2 separate regions of the Homo sapiens genome follow, and region 2 is linked to region 1. The links are contacts of gene promoters, found by promoter capture Hi-C in blood cells and fetal thymus (Javierre and others, 2016). All regions are on one chromosome and are shown on one strand. Each heading gives the region's core, a stretch centred on a gene start or on the middle of the fragment in contact. The rest is flanking DNA. Distances are from core to core; before and after follow the strand shown. Region 1 holds the start of DENND11 (DENN domain containing 11). Region 2 holds the start of MRPS33 (mitochondrial ribosomal protein S33).

Region 1 (7,388 bases), core at 3,616-6,115:
CAGCCAGAACTCCTGAGGAGGGTAATCCAAATGAAAACTAACTGGGGAGACTTCAAAGTGTTTTTTCAGCTCAAAGCCTTCTCATGCTCCAGCCCTTTGTAGGTGGGCACACCAATTCATCCTTCCTTGGCCCTTCCCTACAGCCTCCCACCCACACAAACTATCCCAGATAATTCAACAGGGGGTAAAATATTGCTCACAAAATGCAGTAACTCACTGCCCACCTTTGTCAGAGATTCAGTATCCTACAGGGGCCAGTAAAAACAGAATCATCAAAGAAAAAGGAGAACTCATAGGTTACCAGTAATGCAATTATTATCAACTGGGATTCTCAGCCTAGGAGTGTCTTGTTTACAAATCAGCAAGCCAGATGATAGATTTCTTTTCTATAGCCTTGGTGTTGATGAATTTCCCCTCACATGCCATGGCTTGTCATTCCTGCCTCTCCAGGCAGCTAGAGGCTGGCTTTGCTCTCAGTAAAACAGGACTGACTCAAAACACTGGCTATATTATTGTCCTGTAGACAGGGCACAGGGGCTGGTTTATTAGGTATTACCCAAGTAGACCAGGTTTTCTTTTTTTTTTTCTATCACCTGCTGCTTTTTCTCTCTCCCTTGCTATAATTCTTGATTACCCTTATTTATGACTACATTGTTTGCCTAGGGAGGCAGCTATGCCATTGCAATGGTTGAGGTCTTATGTTATCGGCAGTAATACTGTTAGAAACTTGCACCATTCACCTTTTCATGTATTGTTACTCAGAAGATAATGATTGTGGCTAAGTCTTCAGAATAAGAAAGGTGTAACAATGAGTACAAAAAAGATATCCCAAATTTGGACAACTAAATAATAAGAATTGCATAGTTGCTGATCTGGATGACCCAAGGGAATCCCTAGAGGTGCTACCTATGGCCTCTGGCCCATGGCCTCACTATTTTTTTGGTCACATTGTAGCCTTTTCTTCATTTTTAGCCTCTTTCCATTATGAAAAATTTCATCTCTGCTTCAGTATATGTTAATCCCACAGGCATCCATCCCAGCATAAAGCTTCAGGTGATAGTTGAGATGATGTGTCAAAAGGGGGACCCATGTAATCTGTGGCAATAAGAGGAAAAGGGGAGGGTTTCCCCCTTAATGCCTAACATATAGTAGGTGTTCAATAAATTGTTTTTGGATGAATTTGGGGAAATAAATTAATATATTTCAATCATGTTTAAAATACTCCATATTTGACTTTTTAAAAAAAATTTGAATTTTTTTCTTAATGTGTCAGGAGTTGCTGCACAGGGGGAAAGCGAAGTTCCCAGGAGTAAGATGTGCAAGAAGCGGGCAGCCTTGCATCTCAGGGCTGAGTTCCCTCAACTGTGTGCTTGAGGGAAGTTCTCCCCTTGCAGACACACTGCTGAGTGATAAGGAAGCACCTAGACTCCACTCTGACCAGACTTGGTTCTGAGGCCTATGAAATGTTGATGGGAAGAACAGAAGCAGGAAAATCTATCTATTCAAATTTGCAAGACGTGGAAACTTTTATTCACCTTCCTGGTTAGACTGTTCCTTTGTCAAAGTAAAGCTAAGGCCATGGAAAATGAGCTATTTGAGAGTTTGTCGCTCCAAGGAAGAACATGCTGGCCTAATTGTCCCCCAAGTCAGGAGAGAGAATTGTAAAAAACACTTAAACAGGCCTAAGTAAAGGTCCAGCACATTATTTATTTAAGACTGAATTAGAACTGAGTCATTCCGACTCTGAAAAAAGAGTGTTGTTGGATTCTTATGTATTTAATGGGTCTGCCCTATTGAAAACCATTGTGAAGTATGGTTTCCCAAGCAAGAAATGACACTTTCACTGTCAGTCTTTCTAGGAGTCTGGCAGAATCCAGGACCGGGATTACCCTTATTTATGAAGCGACCTTAGACTAACAGTGGCTCTCTGGGTCTCCAGACAATTGGCCAGGGACTCTAAAAACCAGAAACAAAGTTGAGAGAACTCCATGCTGGTGGAGAAAAACAGCTGGCCTTTATCACCAGAATGTGCCCCATAGAAGCAGCAAAGCAGCAAGCGACGTTCTTAAACAAGGGCCTGTGGGCCTCGTCAAGATCTGGAGGAATCATCTACGACTCACTGCTGAGTGAGAGGGCTAGGCAGTGTCTTTAAGGTCCTGCCAGCTTTAACATTGTATGCTTTTTCTTTTGTTCAATCTCTCACCACAACTGGAAGTGTTGCCTCAACTACACAGGAGAAAGTTTGCAGTAACTTAGAGAAAACATTATTTTAATCACCAGTGTATGTTCTCCTGCTCCCTGGACAAATCCATCAGCAGCGGCAACACTGACCAGGTCCAGATTGGGGCCGCTGCGGTGGATGTGAATCCATTGAAACTAGGGGTCTCCAGTGCTCCTGACTCCTCACAGCTCTGTTCCTATGACAAGGATGGTCAGCAAAGCCAGCAACCTTGAAGGGGGACCTTCTTCTAATCTCCTCCCTGCCTGCTGAGAGAGTGTACAGAAGCAGCCACTTGTCAGCTGCGATGAATCCAATGATAATTACATAAATCATTAACAATACTTGATATTTGCCCATCACATTTCTCATTTCAAAGTGCTCATAAAATTGTATCTCATGGGTGGCACTGCCGGCACAACAGAATTCCAAGGAAGGATTACGGGCTAAGTAAATAAAGCCTGGAGGCTGCTTTAAAGCCTAGGAGTCTGTTATTAACCCTTTCCTCCTTTTTGTTTAACTTTTTCTCATGGAAATGTTCAAACATACCAAAAATAGAGAAAATACTATAATGAGTCCTTATGTATCCATAACCTAGCTTCAAAAATTATGTATGGCTTTACAGTCTTGTTTAGTTCATAACTGCAACTTCATTGAGGGTGAGTGCTGGGGTATTGTGAAGCAAATCAGTGACAACATATTTTACCCATGGATACTTTAGTGCCATTAATAAAAACCCCTAGGTTATTCTATTAATTTGAAATCTACTATAAATCTATCTGATGAATAAATCAAACAGATTTTAACAAATTGCTTCTCTTGCCAAAGTTTCCCATTTGCTAGAACTAGAGATTATTCATCAAAATAGCTGTGACAGTAGAAACATACCACTTGTCTACACACACAACACATAGCATACTTAGAATAGGAATAGATCTCTGATTTGATGTCCCAGTAATTTAGAGATTGATGATATCCTACCGATACTTTAAGGAGCAGACATTTTAAAACGATGGTACAGACCCACTAGTCTGACCTTTTCTCTGTTAGTCACAGTTGGGCTGTGGTCATTCCCGGAGTCCCTAAGATTAGAACAGGTAATGGGTCACCTGTGTGACCTGCACCAAGGCCAGCCCCACCGCCCCCGGCCACAGAAATAAGATCTCTCTCTCTCTCTGTCTGTCTCTGTGTGTGTATGTATGTGTGTATGTCTGTTTCTGCCTCTCCCACATCACATACATACATACACACACACACACACACACACACAGTGCCTCACTGGGAAGAAATGAGCAGGTATGGAGGAGACATTCTCAGAGATGGATCTCTACTGTGCTCCGTCTTGACTTATTTGCTGTCAGTGCTCCAAGGGATGAGCTCTGGAGGTCATCAGTAACTTGGTCAAACATCCACAGCTACTTCTTCATCCTTCTGATCCAATCAAGAGATTCCTATGCTGAAGTTTTACCTTTCAGGAAAGGCTGAACTAAATATGTAAATAATGAAAGTAGACCCTGTTCTTGGGGGTAAAATGCTGCATAAGTACATTCTTTATTGTTATATCATAGATTTTAGATTAGAAGTGGCAGCCTAGGGCAGTCATTGATTATCTTCTTAGGGATAGGGGTTAAATCACATTATCATTGCAGTGCTGACGTGTAGGACACGGAGGTTCATAAACATCCCGTGGAGTAGCACCCAGCACATAGCTCTACTGGGTCCTTTTGCGAACAGGCAAACCATGGAGCCTTGCTGAACCCTGGATGAACTGTGTACCTCCTTCTCTTGCCACCTCCTTCTTTCTATTTTAATAGCTATTCCTATTTTTATACACATCTCCTCTTAAAGAGTTACTTAGCTGCTAGATTTACCTCAAGGATTGAGGCATGTAAAATTTATTTTTAAATATAAAATGGGGGTTCACAGAAAACCCCTAATCCATTTCCAAAGCCATCAGCTTTAGAGCTGACTTTCCTCTTTCTCCCCTGAGCAACTTCCTTTTCCTGATCTTCTGAGGGAATATCCCTCGTCCCACAAATGCTCCAGCACCTCCTAATTTAATACCCTCAAGTTGTATATATACCAGGAAATAAACTCATAATCTCCATCCTAATCAGTTTGTAATATAAAAGGAAGAACAAAATTCCCAAACTTTAACCCTATGGCCTTTTCAGTGTTTATTGATGAGTATATTGCAAACACCTGGGTAGCCAGAGCACCTCTGCTTCACTCCTCTGCTTAGAAGCAGCTTCTGCCACACATCCAGGATTATGTAATACATATCTGTCACGGTCCACAGGACCAGCGGACTTTAAAAAATAATGGTGACATAAAAACTCACAGTGGTAGCTATACCACGGAACCCTAGGTGAGAAGGCACCTCCACCCGCACACAGGTGTATGGACGCAAGGATGAACGTTCCGGCCGCACGCGTCCCACACACGGACGTGCACACGGGCGCCTCCGAATAGGCTCGCGGTTCCCGAAGCCGGCTCCGCGGACGCCTGCTCTGGCTCCGTGGGAAAGGCGCCTCCGCGGCGGGGCCCCGGGCAGCGCCAGACCCGGCGGGCGGCGGCGGCGTTGGCGCGGCCAGGCGAGGGGGGTTCCCGCAGCCCGCCCGCCCCGCCCCTCGCGCCCGCGGCTCCGCCTCGCCTAGCCATGGTGGAGCAGGGAGACGCGGCGCCGCTGCTGCGCTGGGCCGAGGGCCCCGCCGTCTCCCTGCCGCAGGCCCCGCAGCCGCAGGCGGGAGGCTGGGGCCGGGGCGGCGGCGGGGGCGCCCGGCCGGCCGCGGAGCCGCCCCGGAGGCGGGAGCCCGAGGAGCCGGCCGCCCCGGAGGTGCTGCTGCAGCCCGGGCGCCTGGAGCTGGGCGACGTGGAGGAGGACCAGGTGGTGGCCGTGTTCGTGGTCACCTTCGACCCCCGCTCGGGTGAGGGCCGCGCCGGGGCCAGGCGCGTGGGGAGGGTCGGGGTGCCCCCGAGCTTTGGGGGCGCGGGGGAGGGGCTCGCTGCGCGCGCACCTGCCCTCCCGGCCCCGCACCCCGCACCAGGGCCGGCCCCGGGCTCCCGGGCTTGGGGAAGGGCGGGGGTCGGCCAGTCCTCAGCTCTCTCCCTCGGGGCGCAGCTGGGTGCTGGCGCGCGGCCTCTCGGAGCGGCCCCGAGGGCTTTGTTCCAGCCCCGCCGACCTCCTCTCCCCTCCCCTCCTCTCCTCTGAGTCCCAGCCCCACAGTGGTGTTCGCACTTCAGTGACAGGGCATCCGGTTTGTGGCCACGTTGGGTTTTGTTTTCTTTTCTTGGGGGCTAGAAGATTTTTCACGTTGTGCGGAGGAAACCCCCCGGGCGAGCGCCCTGAGCTCCCCGCTCGCCCCCCATCCCGTCCCCCGCTCCCCGCTCGCCCCCCACCCCGTCCCCCGCTCCCCGCTCGCCCCCCACCCCGTCCCCCGCTCCCCGCTCGCCCTAGCTCCCCGTCGCTTCCTCTGGGGTAACTTTCCTAGCGGCCAAGTTCACTTTCTCTGACTGCATTATTTTGAGGAATTAACGCCGGGAGCATTAAGGGATGGGGCTGAGGGATTCAGCTGAAGGCTGATTAAAGGAGAAGCCTCCCCGGATAGGCTGTCTTTCGGAGATGCTTGGAGAATTAAAGTCTTATCCCACATAATCTTAGCCTAACCACCCGGCAGGGGGGTGTGCGTTTTCCAGGTGAGAGTCCACGGGGGACAGAAGGTGGAAGAACGACCCTGCGCGCCCAGGAAGCCTTGGAGGGTCAGCTAGGGACTTCTGACTCTGAGAGTGGCTCTGCTGTTCGGGGTTGGGGGAAGGAGGTGTCATCGCAGGAGTCGTGGTGTCAGGGCTTAAGGAAACCCAGGTGTGACTGTCAATGTCTCCAGGGCAGCTGCTGGAGTGTGGAGTGCCTGTTCGTGCGGGAAAATATTGGCTGCTTTCTGGGATGAGGTGGGATGGAGTGGAGAAAAAAAGGGGTTAGGATCTGGAGAAGGGGAATCTGGTATGGCAGCTGATGATGGGTTCCAGGCCGGTAATTTTGGGGTTCTCAGCTGTAGGACACAGGAAGAATGTGGGATTCACTGTGGAGCTCCATTTGCAGGGACAGAGTTTGTGGGGACAATTCAGGCCTTTGTGACTTCTGCTTGTTTCTTTGCCACATTCCATGGCTTTCAAACTCTTTTGACTGATCTATCATGTGAAGTTAATTTTACATCACAACCAATATGCTCACATACACGTACAGTACTTATGTAACTGAAATAGACATTTCATGAAGTAGTGCTGACTCCTTCTACATGTAATGCATTCTTTTTTCTCTCTCTTTTTTTTTTTTTTCAGACAGTGTCTCACTCTGTCGCCTAGGCTGGAATGCAGTGGCTCTTTTCTCTTTTTTTTAAGTGTTCATCACACATGCTGGTTGACTCGCATTTGAGATTCCTAGATACCAGTAGTTTGAAAAGTATTGGTCTTTTTTGACCAAAGTTACCCGTAATGCTAGACAAAAACCAATACTTTGTAACTAATCATATTGCTTATACTGTACCCCATCATTTACAGGTAAACAGCTACCAGCATTTGACTTATCCTGGGAAATATTTCAGAGTAACTAGAAGGAATAGAAAGGGCACATTCACACGGTCTGATTTAGTATTGGTAGCTCCAGTGGTAGAGTCTTAGGGAAGGGAAAGAGAAAAGAAGTTTTATACTAATTACAGACAGATAGGGTGGATAATACTGATAATTGATCAATTATTGATATTGGCCAATTGATATCTATCAATTGATAAAAGCGCCAGAGGGCTAGTACCTGCCCCCATTCCTTGTCAGTCACAGGCAGTGAGCATGGCTTTGTGAATTTGTGTATACGGAGTGTGTGTGTGTGTGTGTGTGTGTGTGAGTGATGGTTTTCAGACTAAGGCTACTGTGCAAAGAAGGGATTGTAACACATTTAGACATTTTGTGCAGGCATTTTACTATAATGCTGTTTGATTTATTCTGATCACTGCTCTGTAATTTGATGATCATTTATACCCAATTTGTAAATGAGGGAACATACCAGGGATGGTTAGGTAATTTGGGAATATTAAGTAGCCAATAAATACTTGACTGTAAGTCCCATTGTCTTTCTAGTATACTATGCTGCCTGAACCCCTGCTCCCTGGCACCTGAT
Region 2 (6,968 bases), core at 455-2,954, 690 kb after region 1:
AATTCCAGGGTACATTTTGAAATATTTATAAAATGCCTTGAACGATACTCAGAAAACGAGTACAGTTTCCTCACCCAAACTATCAAACATTGAGTAAGTGCTGCATACAATGCCTATGGGATGTGGCTTGCTTGAAAACAGATTTAGTATGGGGTGAAATACTCACAATGCTTTCTACTATCTGCCCAGCGAGGTCTAAGATAACTACTGAGGAGACAAACGTTCCATCCCCTACTCCCTGAAGAAGCTCCTGGGTCAATGGGGGAAAGCGCTCCTAACCCAGTAGCAAGGAAGGCTTGCAGCTAGGGATCCTAATTAACTATTAGAAGATGAGCAGATAGATGGAAGGGGAGGGGGATGGCGCCGCAAGTCGGTCAGAAAGACCACACGGCACACGCATCGCCATTGCTTCAGAGCTTTTGGAGGCAGGTCTGTAGCCATTCCCACCAAAACATACTACCGAACCGTGCATGCCCTTCCAGGAGAGCCAGACCTTTCTAACTCTCCCCAGCCCACCACCTCCCCGGGTCCTCCGCACAGGCGGCGGCGCTAGCCTTACTGCGCAGGCGCCAGGTACACCTCGGAGGCCTCAGGAGGGGGAGCCAGTAACTCCGGGTCGTTCACTAGGGCTCCGCTCTAGCTGCCAAGCTTCCGTTTCTCTACTGCTCCCCGTAATAGTTGCCTGCGCGAGCTTGGAGCCGGGTAGAGGGCGGGCCTTCCGGGACGAGGGCGCGTGGGTGAGGAAGGTCAGGTCTAGGTAAGGCTGTCGGTGACTTTGGGGGTCTGCAGCAAGGGGCGATGGCTGCGAAGTCTACGGGGGTCTCCAACCTTGTAGAGTCGCCAGGAATAGGGCGAATCCACTTCATTAGTGACCAGCTCGGGCGGTTCACGTGCATCACACAAATAACTTGGCCTTTTTCTGCCTCAGTTGGGGGATTTCTTAAACGTAGAATACCCGCGTTTCCGCTGCCGTAATTTCCTCTCAGGCGCAATTACTCTCTTCCATATTGGTTAACAGTAGAAGGCTCAGTTTCTCTGCTCATCACACGGCCTTCGGCACTGTAGCTTTGGGTGGTGGGCTGCAGATTAATTTTGTAACCACCTTAAGAAAAATACGGTAAGGTGATATTTAAGAAAAATATTTGCGAAATGCGCTCCCGAGTCAAACATCGGTTGACTTGACAATACTACAGTTTCCATCACAGTCAGGCATGATCGAGTCAGGTGGAGGGAGTTGAAGATTGTTCTTGATGAACTGAATGCAGCTAATACATTTTCAGTGCCGTTGATGCCTCTATGACTCCGTAAAATAATCGGTACCGGGTTTTTTTGTTTTTAAGCATTCTGTTGAGATTGTTTTTATGTTTAGATTGTTTCTATGACAACGTGTGTACACTGTATGTGAATTCCTTGGATCCTGATGGTTATTAGGGTGGGCACTGTGCCGTGAATTTTGCATATTAGCTTCACATCGCAGATAGTATGACTGTCCTCGTGTAGTCGATGAGAGAACCTGGCAGAGAATAAGCACCATTACAAAAACGACGTGGCCATTAAAAGGCAGAGGCGAGATTCCAACCAGCTTTTTTATTCTGCAGCTGGTGCGTTCTGCTAACCAATGGTTTTTGGGAAACTGGAGAAAGCTCTCTCCCAGAACAATTTACACACACACATACATACACATATCGGCATACAGATGTACACTTCCACTGTTTTCAAAACGCTGAAGCACATCCCGGTTAAGAACTCTTGCACTTCATCTTTACCTTTCAAAGAGAAAAGGCAAACCTAATACAAAGCCACTTATTGAAATAATCTTTTAAATGCATCAGACCTATCAAAAAGATCAAAGAAGTTTGCCCTGTTATGCCAAAGTAAAAATATGGGAATTTTCTTCTCATGTGGGCTTAATTTGTTTTGCTCAGCACATTTGAGTAATTTGTTTTTGCTTAGCATTTTCAGCTCCAGTTAACTTTTTTCATGAGAGTACAGTTTTCTTTAGTTCACATTTAAAGAAAGGTAACACTTAAAGTGACTTGTACTCCCCGAGAATGGTTTCATGTGAATCAAAATGTAATTGACATGCACGTTGTAAGAAAAGCTCCCGTGTTATTCTTCGTGAGAGACATGTGTCTGTGCACTGTGGAAGGAAACAACAAAGCAGTGTCATTGGTAATTGTTAAAACCACTTTCAGTTTCCTCCTGTTTAGCAAGTGGGCCTTTGTTTCTAGTAAGGGATTCAGGTTTGAAAAGGCTTATTCCCTTTCTCTGTCATAAAACTTTAGGACTTGGATTTTATGATATAACCATGTTCCAGCCTATTCTAGTGTGACCTTTTTACTTACAAGTTATGTATCCCAGTAATTTGCCACATTCCAAAATGGGCATGGACATAACAGCAGCATCCTGTGATGGCTTCAGTGACTACTGTCCTACTGAGTCCCTTCCTCCTCCTGGCTATCTTGTCAAGTTATCAAGGTGCTGGTCCTCTCCCTATGTTTCTCTGGCTGTCAGTCTTTGTAAATGAGGTCATCATTCCAGGGAGGCACAAAGTTTTTACTATATGGAGTATCTATCTGTCTGTCTCTCTCTCTTTTTTTTTTTTTCTTAAACATGATTAAGAACAAGGAATAAACAAATGTGTCTATGTAGAATATATGAAAACCAAACTTACAGATCTGGGCTCGTTCTTTTTTGTAAGTTACCATTTACTACTCAGTGCCACTGTTACTCATTTTCGCACTAGTCATGCAAGCTTTGTTTTCAGAAAAGGAGACTCAGAGAAGATGAGTAACTGTTCACAATAACCCAAGGATTAAGTGACAGAGCCAGTAGTCAAACCTAGGCCTCAGGAATCCCTGTTGCCTCTTCATTGACAAATAAAGGGACTTGGAATTCAGAACAGATTTTCCTGAAAACACTGTAACAAACTGATAGTTCCCATACCAGCTTACAGATAACTAACTGTGGAAATACTGTGCAATTACAGCAGAAATATATTCTGATGCCACAATGGTAATTAAGCAAACAAAGCAAAGTTGATGAAGCAACTATTGTTTTTTAATCTAATGTTTGGAAAAAGGTAACTTTAAAGGGCAAAGGAAGAGAAAAAGCATGCAAAGAAACTAGGTGACTCTGGACATTTGCAAGGCTTTTTAGAGGTTTATGGCACTGATTTGTTTATACATTAAACTGCTAAATGAATTTTTTTCACCTTGAGACTATAACCCTAGTCCTAACAACCCCACCCCCAACCAGAGTTGGCAAAGAAGTGAATCAGGAAACTGAGAATGCTGAATGGAAAAGGAAGAACAGGCTTGTAGGTGATCTGCAGATGGTGGGGAGGGAGGGGTGGACGTTGGATCTGACAGTTCTACCGTTGCCAGCCTTCAGGTGGCACTATTGACCCAAAATTGCTTGGTTGGTGTTCTGAATGGTTTTGAGGTTGACAGTGGTTTGAGATCAGCCTCTGCTTTTTTTTTTTTTTTTTTTTTGACACACAATCTTGCTCTGTCACTCAGGCTATAGAGTACAGTAGTGCAGTCATAACTTAGTGTAACCTCAAACTCCTGTGCTCAAGTGATGTCCCCCTCCTCAGCCTCCACGAGTAGCTGGAACTACAGGTGTGCACTACCATAGCAGACTAATTTTCTTATTTTCTTTTGTTTTTTGTTTTTTTTTCTGTAAAAACAAGATTTCTCCATGTTGCCTGGGCTGGTCTTGAAGTCCTGACCTCAAGCGATCCTCCCACCTCAGCCTCTCAAAGTACTGGGATTATAGGCATGAGCTACCATGCCCAGCCTCCTCTGTTAATGGATCTTGAAACAGGCATTAAAACTTCCTTAATTTAAACACGGTTTGTTTTCTTACAAGAACTATTTTGAAATTCACTTGGCACCATTTTTATGTAGGAGGGTTTTTGGTACATTTCTCCCATTGGTTTTTCAAAGTTTATGCCTTTTTCCTGCTTGAATATCAGCACCTTTTCATCTCAGCTGAACTGTTTCCCAGGATAGTCTCTGAGTCAGCAAAGATTCTCATCTCACTACTAAAATTTCTCATAAATTGGCATATTCTGCCAACAATAACCCCTACGTCTGGTCTAAACTGAGTTGAGATAGTTATTCCACCAGCAGCTTTCTTGATTTTTATGTATCCCCTGTATAGTTTTTTATGTCTGTTAGCTGTAATTCGTGCATATCACGGATATCATTCTTATACCCATTTCAGTGTTGTATGTCTCTGAAGAAAAAGCTACTGTTTCCAGCTGATAAGAACTTAGGTAGTTTGCATTAAAGCAGAATATATAAGATGGAGGATACAGCAAGTAACCTTACAATTCATACGTGCCTTCTATTTAGTAAGAAAATGGATCTTTTGAGCTATTGGATTTATTTTTATAGGGCTACTGTCTGTTTTTCCCAAATGGCTCTCAGTCTCTAGGCAAAATTCAGTTCAGTAACCTAGAAGCCAAATGACCTCATAACTCATTAGCAGCTCTCAGAGCCTTCTGGAGCCCTTGAGGAGAACAGTGTTCAAAGGACTGATAGTAAAGACAACATAATTATGTCTCTGCCATGATTACACCTTTTGATGGCAAGCAGTCAGCATATTAATGCTGCAGATTGCTTAGGTGGGTGTTTTCTGAAGGTATAATGATGCTGGATTAGGATAACTTGTTTCCCTGTCTTCTTCATCCCCAGCCTACAAATAGGTAAACTGACTGTCAGTAAATAACCTGGTGAATCACAAAATAGTTGGTTGCAAAGGAGGCAATACAGCAAGGAAGTAATAGCATGTAAACACGAAGTGCAAAAATCGCAGCTGTAAAGCATGGAAAGGAAATAGCCATTTGGACTGTGGATACTTCTCCACTCCAAGGCATATCCTGCCAACACTGCACTGATCCATGAGTGGCTTGCTGTGTTTGCATTTTCTAACTTATTCATTAGCTAATCTTGGAATTTCTTACCCTAACCTGTTTAACTTTCTTCTCATTTTCAATAGGAACTCTAACTCCTTGCCACTCAAGAAATGTCCTCCCTTTCAGAATATGCCTTCCGCATGTCTCGTCTCAGTGCCCGGCTATTTGGTGAAGTCACCAGGCCTACTAATTCCAAGTCTATGAAAGTGGTGAAACTGTTTAGTGAACTGCCCTTGGCCAAGAAGAAGGAGACTTATGATTGGTATCCAAATCACCACACTTACGCTGAACTCATGCAGACGCTCCGATTTCTTGGACTCTACAGGTGATGACAAACACAAAGAGGGACCTATGAGAGACTTTTTTTCAGTAGATCAGAAAAGGAAAAAAATTAGCCTTTCTATCCTTGTAGTTTTGTTCTTATAATAGAGCCCAGGTAGTTCAAAAGGTACAGTTGGCAGGAGAAAGTCTTCTTTCAAAATACCCATAATGGAGAGACCAAAAAAAAAAAGGAAATTCATGCTTGTTGGAAGATATATTTTAATTATGTCTACAACATGACTAATGTTGAATAGATACTGAGCTGTAGAGAGGTGTTTAATCATTTGTTAATCTAAGAGCACTCTAAAAAGGATGCCAAGAGGCCAGGCGCAGTGGCTCACGCTTGTAATCCCAGCACTTTGGGAGGCCGAGGCAGGCAGATCACGAGGTCAAGAAATCAAGACCATCCTGGCCAACTTGGTGAAACTCTGTCTCTACTAAAAATACAAAAATTAGCTGGGCATGGTGGTGCACGCCTGTAGTCCCAGCTACTCGGGAGGCTAAGGCAGGAGAATTGCTTGAATCTGGGAGGCGGAGGTTGCAGTGAGCCGAGATCGCGCCACTGCACTCCAGCCTGGCAACAGAGTGAGACTCCATCTCGAGAAAAAAAAAAAAAAAACAATGCAGAGAAAAACTGGTCCAAGTACTGAGGAAGAAAGCCTCAGAAACACCAAGGTTGCCAGGGCAGTGGGCTCTTGTTATCAGATGAACAGAGTCCCTGACCGACACCTGATCTGCTGCTTAACTGGTATGTGGGAGCCTTCTTTCTCTTCTGGTGGCATTTTTGTTGACATTTCTTCCTACTGTCTTCTGGCATTTTTATTTTGTACCCTTTTTGACATATTAATTTGGTCTAGATAAGCTGTAGTTTGCCTTTAAGGATAATACGTAAATCACACAGGTTCTTAACACCATGTGTTTGTATGTGTGTGTATGTCTAGGGAGTAGGTGCTTAGAACTGTGTGCATCTCTGAAAAAAAAAAAAAGATCAGGCCAGGCACAATGGCTCAGGCCTATAATCCCAGTGCTTTGGGAGGCCGAGGCAGACAGATCATCTGAGGTCAGGAGTTTGAGACCAGCCTGGCCAACATGGTGAAACCCCGTCTCTACTAAAAATACAAAAATTAGCTGGGCGTGGTGGCACACGCCTGTAATTCCAGCTACTTGGGAGGCTGAGGCAAGAGAATTGCTTGAACCCAGGAGATGGAGGTTGCAGTGAGTCAAGATCATGCCACTGTACTCCAGCCTGGGTGACAAAGCAAGACTCTATCTCAAAAAAAAAAAAAAATCAAATACCTGTGTGATCTTTCTCATTAAATTATTTTTTTGGCCAGGTATGATAGCTCACAGCTGTAATCCCAGCGCTTTGAGAGGCCAAGGCGGGCAGACCACTTGAGGTCAGGAATTCAAGACCAGCCTGGCCAACATGGTGAAACCCCGTCTCTACTAAAAATACAAAAATTAGCTGGGTGTGGTAGCACATGCCTGTAATCCCAGCTACTTGGGAGGCTGAGGCAGGAGAATCGCTTGAACTCAGGAGGAAGAGGTTACAGTGAGCCGAGATCGTGCCACTGCACTCCAGCAACAGAGCGAGATTCGGTCTCAAAAAAAAAAAAAAAAATTATTTTTTTAATTACCAAACTAATACATGCCCATTACAAAAGAATTCAAATAGTACATAATTGTATAAAGTTAAAATACCTACCATCTTTTTAAAAATTTA

What was found. Contacts are between HindIII fragments. The CHiCAGO score rates a contact against its expected background, and 5 or more counts as called.
Region 2: a contact is called between a fragment that was not itself captured here and the fragment with the promoter of DENND11 in region 1, in 1 of 17 cell types (total B cells). The highest score is 5.9, in total B cells.

What each region holds. Positions count from the first base shown.
Region 1 is chr7:141,699,643-141,707,030 of GRCh38, reverse strand. DENND11 (DENN domain containing 11) reads left to right here and starts at 4,865. Exons shown (of 9, transcript NM_001080392.2): 1 at 4,865-5,145. The coding sequence starts at 4,878. It overlaps WEE2-AS1 (WEE2 antisense RNA 1), which reads left to right. Exons shown (of 4, transcript NR_199841.1): 4 at 1,274-3,028. The HindIII fragment of the contact is 7,386 bases long and covers 1,050-7,388 here.
Region 2 is chr7:141,008,700-141,015,667 of GRCh38, reverse strand. It overlaps MRPS33 (mitochondrial ribosomal protein S33), which reads left to right and starts at 716. Exons shown (of 3, transcript NM_053035.3): 1 at 716-757; 2 at 5,008-5,249. The coding sequence starts at 5,035. RefSeq lists enhancers at 188-387, 908-957, 420-1,065, 2,208-2,277 and a silencer at 535-843. The HindIII fragment of the contact is 2,107 bases long and covers 651-2,757 here.